2 separate regions of the Homo sapiens genome follow, and region 1 is linked to region 2. Evidence: promoter capture Hi-C in 16 types of primary human blood cells and fetal thymus (Javierre and others, 2016). All regions are on one chromosome and are shown on one strand. The core of a region is centred on a gene start or on the middle of the fragment in contact, and the rest is flanking DNA. Distances in the headings are between cores, read along the strand shown. Region 1 overlaps CPEB2 (cytoplasmic polyadenylation element binding protein 2). Region 2 holds the start of BST1 (bone marrow stromal cell antigen 1).

Region 1 (5,096 bases), core at 432-2,931, 690 kb after region 2:
TTATATGTAATATACTGTTCATAGGTGTACAGTAGTCCCCCCTTTCTGCATTTTGCCTTCCACGATTTCAGTTATCTGTAGGACAATACAATAAGATATTCTGAGAGACAGAGATGCCACATTTACATAATTTTTATTACATTGTTATAATTGTCCTACTTTACTATTATTGTTGTTAATCACTTACTGTGCCTAATTTATGAATTAAACCTTATCATATGTCTTCATTGGAAAAAAACAGCATATGAAGGCACTATTTGCAGTTTCAGCCATCCACTGATTGTCTTGGAACGTATCACTCATGGATAAGGGGGGACTAGTGTGTACATAATTTCTTTTTTTCCCGAAGAAAAGGTTTATAGCTTTCATCAGTTTTCCACAGGAGTCCACAATCCAGAGAAGATTCAGAATCAGTTCTTTAGAAAGCTGAAGAAAAACCTAAAAAGCTTTTCTAAGAATATGTTCATTTATTTACTTTACTTTGATGTTTAAATTAGGGTTGTAGCCTTTTTAAAGCTAGGGGTTCAGAATCAGTACTGTAGACTAAGTTGCTGTCAGGGATTTAAAAAGGTAAAAAGTAACACTGAATGACGGAAGGAATGCTAGACTGGAGGCTCTTATTCCAGCTTTATCACCAATTAACTCTATCAGTACTCTTTACTGATTTTTACTGAAAGGCCCCTGAGGTAAAACACATGCATCAATAACAGCTGCTCTCTAGAACAGTGACCTTGATTAGTGATGGAGGCACAAAGAATCAATGAGCTGTAACAGTGGTTCCTAAACTTGAACATGCTTCAGAATCATCTGGAAGGCTGGTTAAACACACAGACTGCTGAAACACATCAAATTCAGTAGGTCTGGAGTGGAACCTGAGAGTATGTATTTCTAACAAGTTCCCAGGTGATACTGATTCTGCTGGTCTGGATATCACACTTTATAAGAAGCAATTAGTTTCTTCGTCTGAAGTCACTAAATCTCTCTAGGCTCTGGTTCTAACTCCTAGAAAATAATCATGTCAGACTAGATGATGCCTATAGTCTCTTTAAAAATTCTAGAAAAGAAAAAGACTCAAAATACTCTAAAATAAATGAAATATTAATAAAACTGAAACAGAGAATAGGATGGCCCATATGGGCAAAAATGACATATTAATTTTAGGAATCTATCCAGATATTTCCATCTTCCCTGTGCTTCCACTATACTGTGTTCATAACTAATTTGTTGATTTTCCTGTCTGTCCCACTAAACTTCTAAGTTGATTAAGAATAGGGACTATCTAATTACAGAATATAGTTAGTTCTCATGTCTGTTGAATGAATACTTCTTTATCTCTACCATAAAAACTCAATAAAAAATGTAAAAAAAAAGTCGAGTTCTGTAAGGAGAAAGACTGTACTTTTTAAATAGTAATGGTAAAGGACTATAAAACTTTCTCAGAATCCTCAACGGAACAGGTAGTCAAATGTTAATTGACTAAACTGAGACAAGCATCAGATTAACGTGGCTTGCTATGAACCTGAATTTCCAACCACCCAATGGAAGATTAAGTACCACAATACTGAAAGTTCCCAGATGTATTTAAAATAGAATTATAAAATGTAAGCTGTAATGATAAAAGTTAATGTTCATATAATTAAGCAAAAAATCCCTCTGCAGGTGTGCCATATCATGAAGGTTCTAAGAGTATACTGTAAATACTTTAAAATACTTTATTATCTTCCTTACCCTAAATCCTCACAAAGGAAATATATTACAGTTCATGGTTATCTTTTTAGGTTGTTAACTTTGAACAGAATCAACCTATGCCCAGTCAACCGATGACCTTAATTAATGGTAACTATTAAATCACCCAAACAATATTTCCCAAGTAACTTCCTTTTTCTGGAGGTGTAGGGGAAAGTACCCTCTACCTTCATTGCAAGAGGTGTGATCTTGCTCTATAGCATGGTAAAATTATTGCTCGGGTCATGGACAATATTTAAAGTATGAAAGAGAAACATCCTTAAACTAACTATAAATATCAGTGACCACTATATAATCAATTTTGAGAGGTGTTATTCAAAAAGGCTGCATGTATTAATAACTTCAGCTTGAATGTCTGTATCTAACTGAATCAGTGAGATGCCTACTTATAAGGTCTCTTATTTTCCTTTTTCTGTTAAGTATTTGATCCTAAACTCCTACTCTAGGAAAGAAAACAGCAAAGCTATTTTAAAATGATTAGCTTGGTTGTACTTTGTAAAGCATCAGCTGCATCCCATGTGATTTTTAAAGCAACAAACATAAAACAGCCTTGAGCAACCAAAGAGCACATGACATCTCAAAATTGCTTTTTGAATTTAATGAAACCTATAGGCTTACATGCAAAAGATATTGATAATTCCATTAAATAAATTGCAGGAATTAAAATATGACTTCTGAAAAAACAGAAACAAATCTGGTTATAAAACAAACACTCATGCATTCTTCTGAAATACAGACATTAGGAAAAATTGTGTTCATGCAAACTGCCATCAGTTTGAAAACTAAATAGAAGAACTAAGGCAATTTTCAAGTTACCATGAACGCAACAATACTAATTATCATTAATAAATATGGAAAATCATAGCAATGTAATTTACATTTATTACTATAAGGTTATTTGAAAGCACCAAAATACTTCAGAAATATAAGACTCTATGAGGAAAAGTGTGCATGCAATCTATTCTAAAATATAAAAACTATCTGGCAAACAATCAACTAAATGGGCTTTCAGAAACAGATTACAGAATCTCACAATAACTAACAGAATAAAATGATTAGAAAACATTGTTGGAAAAGGCATAACCTCTTTTATTATAATATTTATTTCATGGTTTTTCTTAAACCCAGACATTTGCCACAAACACTTACAGGAGTATCAATAAAAGCTTAGAAAGGCTGAAAAACACAGAAAAGAACAAAGTAATCCAAATCTTGAAAAAAGATAACCTAAGAAAAGATTATAAACACTGAAAAATAACTAAGGAGGTCAGTGTACAATATTAGAAGCAGTATGACAAAGGGAATTCAAACTTAATCACAAGAGAACTTTTTGAAGAGATATTAATTTTTTTTGCTGGGATACATTAAAAACCCTGTTTTATTTTTAAAGAAGTGGTCAATTAGAAACTTCTCCTCTTGAAAATGAGGTACTCTTCCAAAGAAAAATAAGATTATAGAAAACCCCTATATTCTTATATTTAATGATTTAGCAGATGCTTGAACATGTATTATTCTGCTTAACTAGAAAGATCAGCTTTTATTGTACTTACAATGCTTGTGTTTAGTTCTCTAATTTTTACTTTAAAATAAAGCAATGTAGTGCTAATATTGTCCTTAATTTTAAGTAGATATTGATCATACTTTCCTGTTACACAATGTTATCACACCATACTCAGTAGCAGATGACGTGCTACTCTACTGCATAACGTAGTACTCAATCTCATAAGCTCTCTTCTCATTCTCTAGTTGTTCTACATAGATAACCCTTATTCATCTAACTAGACTCTTACCTTCTCCAAGACAAAGAATAGTATTTTTTATCCATATATTCTAAGGGTAATTAAAACACTAACATACAGAATGAATGAAGATACATTTCTTTTATTTTCTTTATTAATTTCGAACCTCAATAAAGTGTGTTAGCCATTCTCAGAAAAAAAATAAACAAATGTTTTAAAAGGCCAAAGCTATTCTAGTACTCACAAGAATTAAAATAGACAAGTGGAAAACATTTCAAGAACAATTAAAGCACTGAACACAGAATAGGAAACAAAAAGAAGGCATCCATTACTTAAGCTGTAATACAAGAGTCCATTCTTTTCCATTTTCAGTGGGCATGTAACAGTTTGATGACTATGAATGTCCCTGAAGTTCATCTGGTTTACAAACCACTATTTAAGAAATGCTTTATCAGATAAACAAATTGGGTTTGGTATGCAACTATATACTGTTTTTTTGTGTGTAAGGTGAGTAAAGATTCAAATAATATTTTTTCTGAGACAGATCTCCAAATTATGATTTACCACATTATCATAACAGCCTATTAAAGATTAATGGAAAGTATCTTCAATTAATTCAAGGTAGTTTATTATGTGACATGCTCAAGCACTGCAAGTAGAGCTTGTGGAAGAGCAAAAATTGAGAGTTGATATATTGATAATTCCCCAGGTGGAAGGCAGGCGGACATGCACGTACATGCTTCACACACTCAATTACTGTTCCAAGACATTACTTTGTTTACAGTGAGCTGATATGTCATATGTAAACTTGTAAGTAATAATAACCTCACTTAAAGGATATTTACTCTTTGATTTAAAACATATGAATAAATATAGCGTAACCTTAACATTAAACTGAAAACTCCTATTTTTTTGGGAAGAGGGGGTGGTGTCTTGTTATGTTGCCGAGGCTGGACTCAACTCTGGGGCTCAGGCATTCAATCCTCCTGCCTCAGCCTTCCAAGTAGTGCACATTGCTGGATCTGGCTGCAAATTCCATTGTAATATAATTTAGAATTCAAACTTTTGAGTACGATTCTCGCAAGGGTAACTAGCTAATGACATTTTAAAGTACAGTAATTAATAACCCTAAGCAAATTCATGTAGATATACTGGCCAGGCATGATGGCTCAAGCCTGTAATCCCAGCACTCTGGAGGCCGAGGCGGGCGGATTACATGAGATCAGGAGTTTGAGACCAGCCTGGCCAACATGGTGAAACCCTGTCTCTGCTAATAATATAAAAATTAGGCGGGTATGGTGGTGCATGCATGTAATCACAGCTACTGGGGAGGCTGAGGCATGAGAATCGCTTGAACCCGGGAGGCAGAGGTTGCAGTGAGACGAGATCGTGCCACTGCACTTCAGCCTGAGTGACAGAGTGAAACTGTCTCAAAAAAAAAAAAAAAAAAAGAAAAGAAATTCATAGAGATATGTATGTAATACTCATTTTAAAGTCAGAAATGTTTATAATAATTTATATTTGCTTTTAGAAAGTTTTAAATTTGAGGGTTTTCTATTTTTAAAAAATCTTATTTAAAATAAAATTCCAACCCACAAAATTTTACATATT
Region 2 (5,079 bases), core at 1,252-3,751:
TTGTCCAGCGCCACTTTAAAGGCTTCCCAGATGGCTGTGCAGTTCTTGTTCCTGTGCAAAAGTACAAGTTGGGAAGAACACACACATGCACATCATAATGTGTTGTGAAGTATGCCCATTTGTCTAAGAGCTTTACAAGAGATTTTTCATATAGTAACTGCAGAAGTAGGCTTACAAAAAAGACAACGAATTGTCATGGCTTAGGTGACAGATTCAGAAATCTGACACTGGAATTGTCTCTCTGAAGGCACTGCACAGATTTCTCAGAGCTAAGGAATACAGCCTTGCCCCAGGCTCACGGAGACAAGCAGAAATGGCACCGAGCAGGAGGTGACAAATTCAGTCAACTATACAGCAGGTGCCTCTTCATTTAGACCTAACGGTGGGGCCAGTCTCATAGTCCAGTTCCAGTGTGGAGCTCGGGGACCAGGTGAGGCCAGGCCAGCCAGCAGGATGTGTAGTGTTAGGAGGGAGGCCCAATGCTGCAAAAGGCTTCCACCTCTGGCAAAGCAGGTGCACCCTCCAGTGCAAGCCCCTCTTGAGGTCCATGCTAGTTTTCAAAAAATATTTCCCATAGCATTTGTAACTTTGTTTCTCATACTGGGTGGTGTGTAACACAGGTGGTTCTCTGCTGTTTCTTATTTGCCTGAAATGTGCGACAATAAAAATGATCAGCACAAGAAAGACATCACAAACATAAGAAAAGGGGGGCCACAGAAGGAACAAAAATCAGTAAGAAATGCAGCACTGGCAAGAAAGACCCAAACTTCAGAAATCCTCCAGATTTAGGGGATCTGAAATTTGAATTCTGGAAGGACTGGACTCAAGGAATTCCAACCTGAGATCACATTCTGGGTTCTGAGTATTCAGACTAAACATCTGCTGGGTGGCAATGGGCTGTTACCCAGTTCACCTCTACCCCACCCTCACTTCTAGAGGGATACCTCTCCACCCTCCTTCACACTCACACACACCTCTCACCTCTAGACCACACACACATCCCTCACCTCTAGACCACACACACATCCCTCACCTATAGACCACACACACACACCTGTCACCTCTAGACTACACACACACACCCCTCACCTCTAGAACAAACACACACACATCTCACCTCTAGAACACACACACAACTCACCTCTAGAACACACACACACACACATCCCTTACCTCTAGAACACACACACCTCTCACTTCTAGAACACACACACCCATCATCTCTAGAACACACACATCTCACCTCTAGAACACACACCCCTCAACTCCAGAACACACACACACCCCTCACCTCTAGAACACACATACACACCTCATCTCTAGAACACACACTCTCCTCAGCTCTAGAATACACATACACCCCCTCACCTCTAGAACACACACACCCCTCACCTCTAGACCACACACACATCCCTCACCTCTAGACCACACACACATCCCTCACCTATAGACCACACACACACACCTGTCACCTCTAGACTACACACACACACCCCTCACCTCTAGAACACAGATACACACACACCTCTAGAACACATGCACGCACCCCTCACCTCTAGAACACACACACACACATCTCACCTCCAGAACACACACACCCCTCACTTCTAGAACACACACACCCCTCACCTCTAGAATACACACACCCCTCACCTCTAGAGCGCACGCACACACACCCCCTTCACCTCTAGAACACACATGCACACACCCCTCACCTCTAGAACACACATACAGACACCTCACCTCTGGAACACACACACCCCTTACCTCTAGAACACACACACACATCTCACCTTTAGAACACACACACACACCCCTCACCTCTAGAGCACACACACACACACACACCCCCACCTCTAGAGCACACACACACACATCCACCTCTAGAGCACACACACACCTCCCACCTCTAGAGCGCGCGCACACACACACCCCCCTCACCTCTAGAACACACGCACACACCCCTCACCTCTACAGTGTGTGTGTGCGCGCACACACACACACTCATCTCTAGACCCCGCACAGCGCACCCCTCACCTGCAGACACACTTCACAGCCCCCTCCTCACTCGCCCCCATCGTTCAGGACCATCGCTGTCTCCACACTCACCTCTCCCCTCAAGGCCTCTCTCATTGCCCCCTCACCCCGAACTTTAGCGCCAGTTTTCCCCTCCCCAGGCCCTCCCCACCGTTGCCTCTTTCCGGCTCCCCTTCCACCCGGCCGACTGCCTCACCGCTGCTCGGGACTCAGCAGTGCGCGGTACTCGGCGCAGCGGCCCAGGAAGATGTCCCGCAAGTGTGCGCTGGTGCCCTCCCCGCGCCACCGCGCGCGCGCCCCGCCCGCCGCCAGCAGCAACAGTAGAAGCAGAAGCTGCAGCAGCAGCTGGAGCAGCCGCGATGCCGCGCACCCCTGGGCCGCCATCGGGGAACTTTGGTCCCTCCAGTCCCGTGCTTCCTCCACTCCCCTTCTCTCCTTCTACCAAGGCGGTTCCGCAAACTGATGCAGGGCGGGACTCTCGCTCGGATATCTCGCTGTTTGCCGTTTCCCGTTCCAGACAATTTCAAGACTGAGCGTGGGGCGGGGCGCGGCGGCTCATGCCTGTAATCCCAGCACTTTGAGAGGCCTAGACGGGCGGATCGCTTGAGTATAGGAGTTCGAGACAAACCTGAGTAACATACAGGTGAGAAACCTCCTCTCTACAAAAAAATACAAAACTTAGCTGGTCCTGGTGGTGCGCATCTGTAGTCTCAGCTACCTGCGAGGTGAGATGTGAGGAGGCTTGACCCCAGGGGATCGAGGCTGCAGCGAGCAGTGATTGCACCACTGCACTCCAGCCCTGGGCGACAGAGTGAGACTCTGTCTAAAAAAAAAATTAATAAATAAATAAAATTAAAAAAGAGTGAGCTTGGAACATCACCCAGGACAGGACCAGTGCACTGTGGCCCAGGCTAATCTTGACCGCTGTCCACGGGGAGGGAGCCCCAAAGAAGCCGCAAGGTTGAAGGAGAGGTGAGGAGAGGTCAGTCATCATCAGAAGAAATACTTTTCTGGCTCCAAAGGACGACAACTTTGACAGATGCCCTCTTTCACACCAACCAATAAGTGGTGTTTGTTTGTTTTCAGGAAATAATAACCACAACAACGTGCCAAGCACTTTGCAAGTATAATATTAATTACTTTCCGCAACACCCTTCCTAGCTAAGTTTGTAATTTCTCTCGCTTTAGCAATGGATAAACTCAGGGAAGTTAAGCATGTTCGGCCCTCCAGATTTGCGGATTCATCATCCAAATTCAGCTAACCACGGATGAGAAACATTTGAGGAAAAAAAGAATGCTTGCATCTGTACGGAACATGTACGGACTTTTTTTTCCTTGTCATCATTCCCTAAATAATCCAATGTAACAACTACTTATGTAACAATTACATAGTACTTGATATTACAAGGAATCTGGAGATGACGTGAATTATAGAAGAGGATGTGCAAATACTGTATACTACACCATTTAATATAAGGGCCTTGAGCATCTGTGGATTTTGGTATCCAGGAGGTTCCTGGAACCAATTCTCCATGGATACCTACCGCCGACTGTAACTTGTCAGAGGTCACAATATCCCTTCCTGATAGATGCAAAATCCTGGAGATGTTCAGTTTAAGAGAGCCAGGATTGGCCGGGCGCGGTGGCTCACACCTGTAATCCCAGCACTTTGGGAGGCCGAGGCGGGTGGATCACGAGGTCAAGAGATCGAGACCATCCTTGCTAACACGGTGAAACCCCGTCTCTACTAAAAATACAAAAGATTAGCCAGGCGCGGTGGCGGGCGCCTGTTGTCCCAGCTACTCGGGAGGCTGAGGCGGGAAAACGGCGTGAACCCAGGAGGCAGAGCTCGCAGTGAGCCGAGATCGGGCCACTGCACTCCAGTCTGGGCAACAGAGTGAGACTCCGTCTCAAAAAAAAAAAAAAAAAGAGCCAGTATTAATAGAATACCACGTGGAGGCCCAAGTCCTCAATTCTTACAATAATGACAGCAATGAACTTTGAGTGCCTGGCAAGCACTTGATAAACACAAGGGAGGACAGAACAGGTGTTCTCTACTGTTTTATTTGAATCTCTTTTTTTCTGTAACCAAAACCCGCATTCTCCTGTTCAGTTCCTCCTTAAGTTAAATCCACTTTCCAGAGGAAAGCATTTTTAATTCTTTCAAGTTTTGTTCCTGTGTTTACTTCCATATTTCTAAATAACATGTGTGAACCCGCAAATTTTGAGACAGGTCTCAATTAATTTAGAAAGTTTATTTTAGCAAGGTTGAGGACACGTGTCCATGACACAACCTCAGGAAGTCCTGACGACATGTACCCAAGGTGGTCAGGGCACAGCTTGGTTTTATACATTTTAGGGAGACATGAGATATCAATCAATATATGTAAGAAGTACATTGGTTCTGTCCAGAGAGGCGGGGACAACTCGAAGCACGGAGGGGGCTTCCAGGTCTCAGGTAGGTGAGAGACAAATGGTTGCCTTCTTTTGAGTTTCTGATAAGCCTTTCCAAAGAAGGCCATCAGAATATGCATATATCTCAGTGAGCAGCTGAATGACTTTGAATAGAATGGGAGGCAAGTTTGCCCTGAGCAGTTCCCAGCCTGACTTTTCCCTTTAGTTTAGTAATTTTGGGGCATCCCTGGCATGGCTCGTCCCACCAAATCTAATGTGAAATTGTAATCCCCAACGTTGGAGGTGGGGCCTGGTGGGAGGTGATTTTATCATGGGTGTGGGTTTCTCAAGAATAGTCTAGCACCATCCCCTTGTTGCTATTCTCATGATAGTAAGTGAGATCTGGTTGTTTTAAACTGTGTAGCACTGGCAGGGCGCCGTGGCTCACACCTGTAATCACAGCAGTTTGGGAGGCTGGTGTGGGGGGTGTGTTGGGAATCACGGATCGAGACCATCCTGGCCAACATGGTGAAACCCCATCTATACTAAAAATACAAAAATTAGCTGGGCGTGGTGGCACGCACCTGTAGTCCCAGCTCTTCGGGAGGCTGAGGCAGAAGAATCGCTTGAACCTGGGAGGCGGAGGTT

Evidence for each region. The method cuts DNA at HindIII sites, captures the fragments that hold promoters and counts their contacts. A CHiCAGO score of 5 or more calls a contact.
Region 1: a contact is called between a fragment that was not itself captured here and the fragment with the promoter of BST1 in region 2, in 1 of 17 cell types (neutrophils). The highest score is 5.4, in neutrophils.

Annotation. Positions count from the first base shown.
Region 1 is chr4:15,010,942-15,016,037 of GRCh38, reverse strand. All of the region lies in intron 3 of CPEB2 (cytoplasmic polyadenylation element binding protein 2), which reads right to left. All of the region lies in intron 3 of C1QTNF7-AS1 (C1QTNF7 antisense RNA 1), which reads left to right. Among named protein-coding and RNA genes, the nearest start is that of CPEB2, 11 kb to the right of the region's middle. The HindIII fragment of the contact is 2,466 bases long and covers 449-2,914 here.
Region 2 is chr4:15,700,487-15,705,565 of GRCh38, reverse strand. BST1 (bone marrow stromal cell antigen 1) reads right to left here and starts at 2,501. Exons shown (of 9, transcript NM_004334.3): 1 at 2,234-2,501; 2 at 1-51. The coding sequence starts at 2,421. RefSeq lists a silencer at 2,483-2,562. The HindIII fragment of the contact is 13,056 bases long and covers 1-5,079 here.